3 separate regions of the Homo sapiens genome follow, and all the other regions are linked to region 1. Evidence: promoter capture Hi-C in human tissues and cell types (Jung and others, 2019). All regions are on one chromosome and are shown on one strand. The core of a region is centred on a gene start or on the middle of the fragment in contact, and the rest is flanking DNA. Distances in the headings are between cores, read along the strand shown.

What was found. Contacts are between HindIII fragments. The study calls those that stand out against the background at their distance.
Region 2: a contact is called between a fragment that was not itself captured here and the fragment with the promoter of TIA1 in region 1, in 1 of the 25 tissues and cell types used here (spleen).
Region 3: a fragment that was not itself captured here is called in contact with the fragment with the promoter of TIA1 in region 1 in 2 of the 25 tissues and cell types used here (dorsolateral prefrontal cortex and hippocampus).

The regions. Positions count from the first base shown.
Region 1 is chr2:70,246,775-70,250,967 of GRCh38, forward strand. It overlaps TIA1 (TIA1 cytotoxic granule associated RNA binding protein), which reads right to left and starts at 1,854. Exons shown (of 13, transcript NM_022173.4): 1 at 1,631-1,854. The coding sequence starts at 1,656. It overlaps TRG-CCC2-1 (tRNA-Gly (anticodon CCC) 2-1), which reads right to left and starts at 2,287; the gene lies at 2,217-2,287. RefSeq lists enhancers at 620-1,435, 1,436-2,250. The HindIII fragment of the contact is 19,489 bases long and covers 1-4,193 here.
Region 2 is chr2:69,875,303-69,879,495 of GRCh38, forward strand. GMCL1 (germ cell-less 1, spermatogenesis associated) reads left to right here. Exons shown (of 14, transcript NM_178439.5): 14 at 3,607-4,193. The coding sequence ends at 3,702. Among named protein-coding and RNA genes, the nearest start is that of SNRNP27, 17 kb to the right of the region's middle. The HindIII fragment of the contact is 5,483 bases long and covers 1-4,193 here.
Region 3 is chr2:69,931,724-69,935,916 of GRCh38, forward strand. MXD1 (MAX dimerization protein 1) reads left to right here. Exons shown (of 6, transcript NM_002357.4): 4 at 3,628-3,742. It also overlaps a transcript of ASPRV1 not described here. Among named protein-coding and RNA genes, the nearest start is that of MXD1, 19 kb to the left of the region's middle. The HindIII fragment of the contact is 4,255 bases long and covers 18-4,193 here.

The DNA.
Region 1 (4,193 bases), core at 604-3,103:
ACTTGGGAGGGTGAGGCAGGAGAATCATTTAAACCCAGGAGGTGGAGGTTGCAGTGAGCCGAAATCGCATCACTGCACTCTAGCCTTGCAGCCTGGGTGACAAAGTGAGACTCCATCTCAAAAAATTAAAAAGTAAAAACAAAATTAAAAAGTTAAAAAGTTAAGTGGTCAGATACTTCTGCAGTTTCTAAAATTAAACATTTTCAAACTAATACTGAGAATATTAAGTTTACATTATAAAACACGAGCAGTGCCTTAACCCAAAATGCTGATGACTGTCATAGCTAAGAGGCAAGAGGGAAGAGATTCCACCAACACCGTGAGGCTAGTAGTTTTTTAGGGAGTATTCATCTACAGATACAATCTTTCCTAAAACAAAGGTCATGCACTAATTGCTACGTCCTACTGAAAAGATACTTTCTGAGCCTCAGGAATAGAGAAAAGAAATTTCAAGGTTACTAACAGATTAACTGACAATCTATTAAGAAAACAAGTGTAACCACATTTCCAATATAGACAAGAAATAGCAACTTAAAAGTGGAAAAATTTTGGAGGTAAAAAAACAATTACATCGTACTTCAGAGCAACTTTATTAGAGAGCTGCAAAGAGAAACCTAAAATTGCATTTTTAATGCATGGAGCTCTCAAACTGCCAGTATTCCAAGAATATAAACAAAAAGCTATGTCATCCAAGAAAAACAAAAAGCTATGTCAAGAACTCATTGAGCTTTTCTTCTTCCGAGAAATGCCAACAAAGGCAGGATCAACTCATCCGATAATACCTCGAAAAACAAAGAACGCAGTTGGGGAAGCCACACGACAAAGAAAATATCCACGCTCCGGTAATTTAACGCTATCTCTAAAAATTCTCTGTAAATATGTTAGGGCATTTACAGCCCGCTCGTTCAACACCATGTCAATCACAACAGTAGTAAACGACTATAAAAATAATATTAAATCCATTTCCCCTCAATTGATATATTCCTTCTGGGTGAGATTTCCAAATCCTTGGGGTGTCTGGTTAGGCTTTTTGGTCGGTGGGTGCTACAGAAGGAAAGCCAGAGGTTAAAGAAAAATGCTTGGCTTTTTTCCAATTGGCAACTGCAAGAATAAAGTTTACTGCACTGAAAATGAGTACAAGCACCCTCGAGGAGGAAAAAAAATCTTATCACCGAGAAGAAAATGAAAGGAAGAATTTCAGTAGGAAATCAAAAGTAAAATTAAAGGGAGACGGCTGTAAAGATAAGAAGAGGTTAATCAAAAAGGGGGAGAAGCGGGAAAAGGAAAGAAAGCATAGGACAAAAGGAAGGTTCGACGAGTTCTAAAAAGAGGTCTGAATTAAAGTCTTTTCTCCAGGTCTAAGACCACAGAGGGCCCGTGGCGAGAGCAAAGGTCATGCAATGGTGTTGCTAAAGTGAAGGGATTAATTGAGAGGGTTGAGCCCCGTCTCCCTTCACCTCGTCCTCACAGATTGGGTCTTGGTTGTAAGCATCCAGGTGCATGCTAAGGAAACAAAAACCACGATATCGCGGTGTCCACGGAGAACAATAGGCTGGGAGCGGCGCAGGGCCGAGGCCTTCCCTCCGGGACGACCACCATCCCGCCTCCCTCATCGCTGCCCCAGACTCACAGAGTCTTGGGCATCTCGTCCTCCATGGCTGCTGCTGTCGCGGCGGCGCCTCCAGGTCCAGCTCCCTGCCCTTCACTACCTCCCAAATCGTTTAAGCGGTTATGGCTACAGGATAGTGGGGTTTCTCGGCTGACCAGAGGTTACTCCGCCTCCTCCTCCGGCGGCAATTACACTAAACCGCCCGGCCCAGCGGGAACAATGAAACCCCAATACAAGATGGCGGCGAGCCGGGAGCCTAGGAGCAGCCAGCAAAGTTACCCGGGCCGCGCAGGCGCAGAATAATCTTGCACTCTCAACCTCCGGGCCGCCCGGCTACACCTTAATCCATAGGTTCACTTGTTGCGCAGCCGCTCTTCCACCCGACGCGAGGGACGCCTCAGACTGCGCAGGCGCAAGTATTAACTACTTCACGATTTGCGTGAACTTTTTTGTCTTCTGGCTGCGGATTCGAGTGTTTCGACCGCGAATTATGAGGGAGTGGAAACCTTCAGGGACAGTAAAAAGCCTAAATCTTTCCTCTTTTGGAAAGATATATAAAGACTCTTCAAGCTATCTGGTTTTTAGCGAGCGAGAAGCAAAACGCCTATGCGCCGCCCGGGAATCGAACCCGGGTCGCAAGAATGGGAATCTTGCATGATACCACTACACCAGCGGCGCTGTTGACATGCCCAGCCGCCACAGTATTTTAGGAGGAAATAGAAGCAGACGTTCTCTCATGTGAAAAGAATTGTCATGTATTATTTATTCATTTAAAAGTAAAAGTTTATTGACAGTCTGTAATCTTCTGTTTTCCAATAACATAAATAATTTATCTTTTCTCATCCCAAACATAGGAATGGATGTTTCAACTTTCTCTGTACAGAAAAAAAATTTCAATTTAAAATGTTTACTTAAGAAATAAGAAAAAAGAAAAAAAGTTTTACTTAAAAAAGTAAGGATTTTATTAAGAATTTGCGTCGTTGGTGCTAGCCAGATTTTTCAGCGCGGGGAGGATATTTCCAGATGCCAGATTTTTATTTATATTTGCATTTCTTCCGTGTATTGATTGCACATTGAAAAGCATTTAAGAAATAGCTGTTTAGGCCGGGGGCAGTGGCTCACGCCTGTTATTCCAGCACTTTGGATGGCTGAGGCGGGCGGATCACCTGAGATCAGGAGTTCGAGACCAGCCTGACCAACATGGCGAAACCCTGTCTCTACTAAAAATACAAAAATTAGCTGGATGTGGTGGTGGGGGCCCGTAATCCCAACTACTCAGGAGGCTGAGGCAGGAGAATCCTTGAATCTGGGAGGTGGAGATTGCAGTGAGCCGAGATCTTGCCATTGCACTCCAGCCTGGGCAACAGAACGAGGATCCGTCTCAAAAAACAAACAAAGAAACAAACAAAAAACCCCAGCTATTTAATGCAAATTGGTCACAAGAATCTTAAAAGTAAACAAGTCAAAAGATACATAAACTTCAGTCCAACTTTAGGAGGCAGAGAAATTAGAGCTCTGAAATGTGATTCAGTATACTCTGTATGCATTTCACATTGCTTATTATATATATATGTCACTAAAGTAATCCTATGTCTAGGAATCTATCCTACAGAAATAAAACAATTAATTTATAAAGATTTATGTGCCAAGATACAACTGCAGCATTGTTTACAGTAGAAAAAAATGGAGTAACCTGAATATCCATCAATGCCACTTATGGTAATTTATTCAATTTACACCAAATACATGTGGAACTTTTTCTTTTTCTTTCTTTCTTTTTTTTTTTTGAGACAGTCTCGCTCTATCTCCCAGGCTGGAGTGCAGTGACACAATCTTGGCTCACTGCAACCTCTGCCTCCCAGGTTCAAGCGATTCTCCTGCCTCAGCCTCCCTAGTAGCTGGGATTACAGACGTGCGCCACCACCTAAATTAGCCTAACTAATTTTTGTATTTTAGTAGAGACAGGGTTTTGCCATGTTGGCCAGGCTGGTCTTGAACTCCTGACCTCAGGTGATCTGCCTGCCTTAGCCTCCCAAAGTGCTGAGATAACAGACGTGAGCCGCTGCCCCCAGATGGAACATTCATTTTATGGACTATTTTGCAGTTATTGAAAAGCTATTAATCAGATCTGTAGTGTTGAACTGGAAAATATCTATGATGTAAGTTTATTTAAGTTGTAGAAATATTTTTTAAACATAGGAGAATTTACACATCGAAAAACGTGATGTCGGCTGAGCGGGGCGGCTCACGCCTGTAATCCCAGTCTTTGGGAGACCGAGGCAGGCAGATCACTAGAGCTCAGGAGTTCAAGACCAGCGTGGCCAACATGGAGAAACCCCGTCTCTACTTTAAAATACAAAAATTAGCCAGATGTGGCGGCACATGTCTGTAATCCCGGCTACTCGGGAGGCTGAGGTAGGAGGAGAATCACTTGAACCCGGGAGTCGGAGGTTGCAGTGAGCCCCTGGGCCACAGAGCAAGACTCCTCAAAAACAAAACAAAACACCAAAAAAACAAAAACGTGATGTCCTCTTTAAAGTAGTTTCTTCAGACTGTATACATTCTGGATTTTTCATTTTTGGAA
Region 2 (4,193 bases), core at 1,152-3,651, 370 kb before region 1:
ATTTCTGGACTTTTTGTTTTATTGATTTCTTTGTTATGAAGACAAGGCATTGTTTTAATTAGGCTAACTTTAAAATGCATTTTAATATTTAGTTACGCAAAACCACCTTCATTTTTCTTTTTTTCAAAAATCTCTCAGTTCTTTGTGCATGATTATTCTCCTGTATGGGATGTAGGATCATTTTATCAAGTTTCCTTGCAAAAATTCCTATGGGGATTTTAATTTATATGATTAAATATGTAGAGTAGTTTGTGGACCATTGATGTCTTCCTTTCTGGAATATGGTATTTTCTACATTTACGTAGGTCTTCCCTTATGTCTGTCTCTAAAATTTGTAGTTTTTCCCATATTGTTCCTGTGTATTTCCTGGAAGTATAACACTTAGTATTTTACATTTCTTTTTTTTTTTTTGAAACGGAGTCTTGTTCTGTCGCCAGGCTGGAATGCAGTGGCGTGATCTCAGCTCACTGCAACCTCCACCTCCCGGGTTCAAGCGATTCCCCTGCCTCAGCCTCCCAAGTAGCTGGGATTATAGGCACATGCCACCACGCCCAGCTTTTTTGTATTTTAGTAGAGACAGGGTTTCACTCTGTTGGCCAAGATGGTCTCGATCTCCTGACCTCGTGATCCGCCCACCTCAGGCTCCCAAAGTGCTGGGGTTACAGGTGTAAGCCACCGCACCCAGCCAGTATTTTACATTTCAGTTGCTAATATGAAATGAATCATTTGTTCTAATAGTTTTTGATAATGTAAGAAAGTTAGTGATTTTTGTATATTTATTTTGTAACTGTCCATCTTATAAGACCATGCTAAATGGATTTTCACTATAGAAGGTTCCGTCAGACAGCAATGTGTAGGAAGGATTAAAGATATGATAATGGCAATAAAACAATTTATGATTATATAGCTATAATTCAGATTAAAAGTGATAAGAACCTTAAAGAATGTAGCAATGAAGAGGAAAATATTGATGGGTTCTGGAAATAAAGTGGTGCAATTGAGAATTTGATTCTTAATTGTGTGTGTGCATGAGGAAATGTCAGATGGTTTTCTGATTTGAGCAATTTAATTTACAGTAGTGGTTTTACCTGAGATTTGAATTATAGGAAGGAAAATGAACATGACATAGTGTTGGTGATGGTGAAGAGATGATGAATTCTGTTTAGGGCATGTTTAATTTGAGAGCATCAAGGTGAAAATTTGATAGGCTGGTGAATAATGGATTTGGAGTTTACAAGTAATGCCTGAACTAGAAATAATAATTGGATGAGATAATGTACAGGAAATGTGTAGAGAATATGACAGGATAGAACCCTAGGGACCACTGGTATTTAAGAGATGGACAAAAAAGGTAACCTGGTGAGACATTGAAAAGCTGGGATGGAGAATCAAAGCCAAATTGCAGGCTTGGCGTGGTAGCTCATGCCTGTAATCCCAGCACTTTGGGAGACCAAGGCCAGAGGATTGCTTGAGACCAGGAGTTCAAGACCAGCCCTGGCAACTTAGCAAAACCCTATCTATACAAAAAATTGAAAAATTAGCCGGGCGTGGTGGCATGTGCCTGTGGTACCACCTACTTGGAAGCTGAGGCAGGAAGATCACTTGAGCCTGGGAGGCTGAGGCTGCAATGAGCCATGATCATGCCACCGCACTCCAGCCTGGGTGACAGAGTCAGACCCTGTCTCAAAACAAAAACAGACAGACAAAAAACACTACCAACAACAACAAATACCCAGAAATTTATTTAATTGTCTGGAAGTAGAAATGGGGACCTAGGAAGTTGCTGCTGCTCTGCTGCTGCTATATGTGGGCTCCACAGATTCCATCCACAATGGAATAAGGAAAATAGAACTTTGCTATAAAGGTACTTCAATGCAAATGTAGATGCAGATTGAACCTTTAGGTGAAACAACAGATTTGATGAAGCTCGGATCGACCTATCCTGTTTGGGAATGGAGAGTGGGGATTAATACAATTTAATATTCAAAAATTGGTGTATCCATTCAGCCAAGTGATATCCACGTGCCTTCCTTCTTTCTCCAGAGTTGGCCCTTTGACCTACCCTTCCCTGCCTCAATCTTAACTGTATTCAAATACTAGAAGGCTAATCTTCCTCAGAGCCTTTTAGTTATGGAACAGAATCTTGATTTTTATCATCAGATATACATATCATCAAAACATTTGTCCTCAACAAATTTGGTAAATGTGCCTTCACCCAGATTATTGATATAAATTTTGACTAGTTCAGGATGTCTCAAGCATCTGAAGACCAACCATGCTTTGGCATAATTCCTCTCTGGTGACACTTGTTAGCACAGTCTAGGTGATGGCCTCCCCTGATTTTGTTCACTGATGTCTTTTTATAATACCACTTTCCCTCGTACAGAGAGAGAGATTGTGTGTTTGTGTGTGTGTGTGTGTGTGTGTGTGTGAGACATTTGTACTCTCTACCTTCTTTATTCAAATTTATCTTCTTGTTCCCTCAACACAGAAGCTGTGTCTAGTGAGTCTGCTTCAGTCACACAGATATTCTAGTTTTAGTTCCTCTTCATGCAGGAATACATGTCTCAGTAAAAAATTAAAACTTTGGATTTAAACAGTGTTTAATAGTATCTTATCCAAAATAAATAAAGTGTAACTAATGCATACTATTGCAGAGAGCATATCCCAGGCATTTAAAACGTAGGAATTCTCATTTTAGTGTTTCTTCTTTTACTCTGAGGATTGATTCTATTTACCAAATGCTTCTAGTAAAGGATATATGAGGTTCCAAACAGAGATCTGTAGCATCAGGGATGTTATATTTGTGTAGTGTCAGCTCCTGTCTCTGGGAGTTCTGAGCATTCTTGTGTGTGTTGATGTAACTGAACCTGAAATTGCTTTTCCATGATAATGTATTTTATGTTTCAGGAGACAAATTACATGTTTGTCATAGGGACAGTGGGAAATGTCAATAGTAGGAACCCTGCTTTTTGATGATGATAATGACTCCCGACCTTCATCTGGGTGATTTGCTGTACCCAACGGCCATCAGTAATTGAAGCCAAGTAGCCAGGCACAGTGGCACCTGCCTGTAGTCCCAGCTACTCAGGAGGCTGAGGCGGGAGGATGAGGCAGGAAGATCTCTTGAGCCCAGGAGTTCAAGGCCAGCTTGGGCAATATAGAAAGACCCTATCTCATTTTTAAAAATAATTAATTAATTTTGTAAAAGGAAATAAATTTTTTTAAAAATTGAAGCCCAGTGAGAAGTTTATGTATTTCTAGACATTGTATCTGTTGACAAAATATGTAAGTATTTGATAGAAATTTTTGCAATAATGAAAATAACTACCATTATTGAGTACTTAATAGATAGCTGGCTTTGCAAAACCCCCTGTGTATTATCTCTTGTAATCCTCCTTTAAGTCAGGTACTCTTACTGTCCCCATCTTACAGTGAGGAAGCTGCATTTGACAAGGTCACACAGCTAATGGGTGGGAGTTTGGAGAGTGGAGTTGTGGATCTCAGACTCAGGACACTATCTCCTTTGGTTCACTCAGTTCAACAGTTTGGTTTTTTGTTTTTATTTTATCTAATTGTCATTGAATCTACAAATCTGTCTTATAGGAACAAGTGGTGATGAACTTGGACAGCAGGCTTCTGATCTTCCCTTTATATATCTGCTGTAACTTCTTGTATATATCACCAGAAAAAAAGAATTGAAAATAATCGTCACCCAGAAAATCCAGAAAACTGAAGATTTCATCAGTTGGAAACAGTAGCACTTTGAAAACTTTTTAGGCCAGCTTTAATTTAATGGCCCTACTGATATTCACATCGAAGGTGACTAACAATGACAAAGGCCTTATGAACTGTACAGACAATACAGAAGATTATTCTTATCCTCATTGCATTTCTATGCATATGCGTAAGAACATTTTAAAGCCAAGAAAATATCTGTCAAACCATTTCTGTTAGAACGATGTCAATTCATGCTTTTAATTTAGCATCAATAGAAAATTGCTGTAGGTAAATCTCACATTTATCTGCAACAAAATATAGATTTAATTTTTAGCTTAAACTTTGTTTCTACCTTATGTTAGTGGACCTCAGTTATCCATCTGTAAATTTCTTTTTATTTGGCTAAAATAATCTAAAAGAATAATTTGGTTGGCCAATTAGAAATGCCTTTTTCAGTTGGTGTATTGAAAGCT
Region 3 (4,193 bases), core at 895-3,394, 310 kb before region 1:
CTTGATTCAGAGCATGACTTATTATAGTTCAAAGATTGGTTTCTTTATGCCACTGTAGACCAAAGGTATATCAGCTTATTCAGAATAATTAAAGTTATGTTTCTGAAGAGTCAGAAGGTGAAGTTTGTTAGTCCATGGCCTAGGTACAAAGCAGTGTGGATCAGTGCTAAAGGAAGAGGCAGCCGGGTGCCAGGAAGATGGGAGGTAGCTCTTGGCAACAGAGGGAAGACTGAAGAAGATGTGATGGGAGGAGAGTCAACTTCCTGGGTCACACTGAGGTGTCGGGTGGCTTCCTGTTGAGGATATATGGCAAAACCCCTGCTAGTTCCCCAAATGGGAGTTTGACCTGGTTTAAAATGGGACAGCAGGGCACAGGAGTAGTCAGAACTGAGAAAAGAGAGCTGAGACGGGTGTTTGTTCTGCTTGTTTTGGATCTGGGAGCTCCGTGGGTACTCAGGGCTGGCAGAGGGATTCTAGATCCCAGGAGTTTGTGTGTCTGTATGTGTGTCTGTGTATGTGTGTGTGTGTCAGGGTTGGAGAGCTTTGGTAGGAGCTGTACATAACAGAGGGGTCTGTTTGCTTTTTTATCTGGTTCAGGGATTGGATTTCACTACTGTATGATAGAACTGAGTCTACTTAATATATTTCATTGCTCTCCTGTGGTTGGCCCGGGCACCAGTGTGGGGATGTCTGCAGGCAGTGGCATGTGGGCAGGGGGCAGCCATCAGGCTGCAGCAGTGAGGCGCCGGAGAAGGCCAAGGCAGACACTGCCAAAGACAGAGTTGGCTTTGGGTCTCTGCAAAAATCCAGAAAGAATTCTGGTCCTATTTTTGTAGAACTAGGCCAGAAAACACTGAATGAACAAGTATTAGTCTCAGCTGGAATTAGTCAAATGGCTTATTTCTAGTTTCACGACTAGGAGTGTTCTTTGGAAACCCACATTTGGGTAGTGAAAATTGCACTTTCTGGGCAAGACTCCTATAAGGCTAGAAATGACAATGCATCAAAAGATGACTTTATTATATTTTTATCAGTGGACAAACTTCCTAAAAAAATTCACACACTCATATCTGCATATAAACCAACATCATAAAAGTACTAAAATGACACTGTTCTGAATCATGCAGTCTTTGCAAATAACAAGCTGGCTGAAAAATATCTAAATATAATTTTAATTTTTGAACTTTTTCTTCTAATTGGAAAATTAGCTCATACCTGTAATCCCAGCACTTTGGGAGGCTGAGGCAGGCAGATTGCTTGAGGTCAGGAGTTCGAGACCAGCCTGGCCAACATGGTGAAACCCCATCTCTGCTAAAAATACAAAAATTAGCCGGACGTGGTGGCGGGCGCCTGTAATCCCAGATACTCAGGAGGCTGAAGAAGGAGAATCTGTTGAGCCTGGGAGGCAGAGGTTGCCATGAGCTGAGATCACGGCACTGTACTCCAGCCTGGGCGACAAGAGCAAGAACTCTGTCTCAAAAAAAAAAAAAAAAAAAAAAAACAAAAAAAGAAAATTAGTCTATAAGTTTTATGGCAAGAAATAGACAAATTTATAAATGTATAAATTATACTTTCTCATAGTGTTTCTAATAACATGATCTATTTTCATGGCTCTTTTTGAAGAATATTATCCAAGATGAACAAGTATATTTTACATACAAGTTTTCTTCCCTTCCCTGGTCCCCACCACATGCAGTAGTGGGAGGAGCACACCTGTAACATGAGTCTTTGCTCTGACTCTGCCACATGGACAGGTTTTTCAGAAGAAGTGAAAGACTTACAAAATAGTAAAGCCCTTGTGCTATTACCTCTTCCTAGCTCAGAAATGAATGCTGTACTCCCCAAGCTTGCCAAGCCTTAGAGCACCCTTGGAGAGTTTAGGACAACTTCCTCATGACCTAGAAGAGGCAGGAGGCTCAGAAGGAAGGAAGTCTAATGCCTTGCTTACTAGCCCTGCCTTAGGGGAACATCCTGAAGTCTCCCTGGAGAGTGTGAATTGACTTCTTACATTAATATCATGCATATTCACCTGTCCTATAGCTTTCTGAAGCCATTTCCTTTCTTTGGTCTATATTTTCAACTTTTGCTATTACAGTACAATTCTTAAGAGGAAAAAGGGCAAACCTATAAGGCATTGCATTGTTTCCCAATTCAGCTGGAGGGGAGCCTCCTAGACCCCAGGGAACTCTGCTCCAAGTAGGTTGTGTGTGGGCAATGAATGTTATCTAAAACCTGAAGACTCTGAGCACTGCTGAAGGTGCAAAGATGCAGTAGAGATGGACTCTGTCCTCTAGAAGCTTAAAGTCTAGTTGAATAGATGACATAATCCATTCAGCAAACACTTATTAAGCATGTGTGTGTTTGAGGCACGGTGACAGCACAGCAATGATTAAGCTGCAATCCTGACTTTCTAAGGAGACTGCAATGAATGGTTAAGTAAGAAATATGAAACAAGTCAGGCAGTACAGTGAACTTCCCAGTGAATAATATAAACAGTTAAGTGGTGCTTAGAAAATAGAGGAATCACTGTGAGCTAGGATGGCTTGGGAAGGCTTTAAGGAGGTGGTAAGCTTAAGCAAAACCCCCAAATCTCAGCTGCTTCTTACATTCATAGAATTTTCCAGGTTCTAGAATAAAGCACAAACCATTTCAAGGAAATGTAAATTTCTCAGTTGGAGCAACTCTCGTGCTCTCTCTTCAGTCAGTTGCCGTGGCTGCTGCTTCATCCAGCCCTTCTCCCTCTCCCACTCCGTGCCATTGCATCAGTCTGACATACTCCAAGAACAAAAAGTATAAAAAATGACTCAGTAAAAACCCCCATCACTTCCTTCCTTATCTCTGTCTGACTGTTCCTTGCCTTCTCCCTGCCCAGCCAGTTTCTTATGTGTCATTCCAGAGTTTGTCTACATACAAGAAAACATGAATATAGATTCTTGTTTTCCTCCATCTTTAAGATAGCATGGTATACTCACAGTTTGGAATCTTGCTTTTCTCCACTTAACAATATATCTGGAAAATCTTTCCTAATAGGACATAAAGCACATTCTCATTCTTTTTGATAGCTACATAGTACTACACGGTGTGGATGTAGCATAATTTATTTAACCAGTTCCCTCCTGGGTGGTCATTTGGGTTGTTTCAATCTTTGCTATTACAAATAAAGCTTCAACAAATAACTCCACAGATATATATGCTCCTTGACTTATGATGGGGTTATGTCTCAAGAAGCCCATCATAAATAAAAAACATCCCAAGTCTAATATGCATTTAATACTTCAATAAACTCATTATAAATTTAAAAAATTGTAAGTTGAACCATCATGAGTCAGGGACCATTACTGTATATAGTATTTACACATGTGAATGACTATATAATAGCAGATATTATTCCCTACCCCAGCACTTGTATTATCAATAGACTTAGCTTCGAAAACCTTGGATTTTGCTTCTCATTGGTTTTCACCAGAGTTGTCTGGTTCAAAATATGTTTATTCAGCAAAAGGTCATTGGTAGCATTTGCCATCGCAAGGCCTGGGCAACTTCACACTCTTTGAGAACTCATTCTGCCTGGGGTGCTTCTGGCCCACTGTGAAACTCTCAAATGCTACTGTGGTCTTGTTTTCATAGACGGGCTCATCTTCGCTTGTGCCTGGAGAAGTTGAAGGGGCTGGTGCCACTTGGACCCGAATCAAGTCGACACACTACGTTGAGTTTATTAACAAAAGCCAAATTGCACATAAAGGTAAGTGTATTGTTGGGATGCTGCTTTATCTTTACCTGTTCAGTGAGGGTTTGTCTGTTGTTACATCTCCAGGACAGTCCTCTCCCCTGAACTCCTCCAGTCTAGCTATTGGATGAATCACAGGTACCTCAAATGCAACATATTCAAAACCCAACTGAGTGTTTCTCACTCCCATGCACCAGAGGTTAAATGGTCCATCCAACTCTCCATCCAGTTGTACAAGCCAGAAATTCAGGAGTCCGTGATAGCTCCTGCTCCTTAACCATATATCTAGGCCATCTCCAAGGCCTAAATATTTTGCAACCGGTCTACTTCCATCTTCATCCCCACTGTCTACTGCAATAAAATCCTCAGAGGTCTCCCTATATCCCTCTGGGTCCCTCCCGTCTGCTTTCCATGCTTCCTGAGAACAGTCCTTCCAAGGTGCAAATCAACACGTGACCTTGTTTAA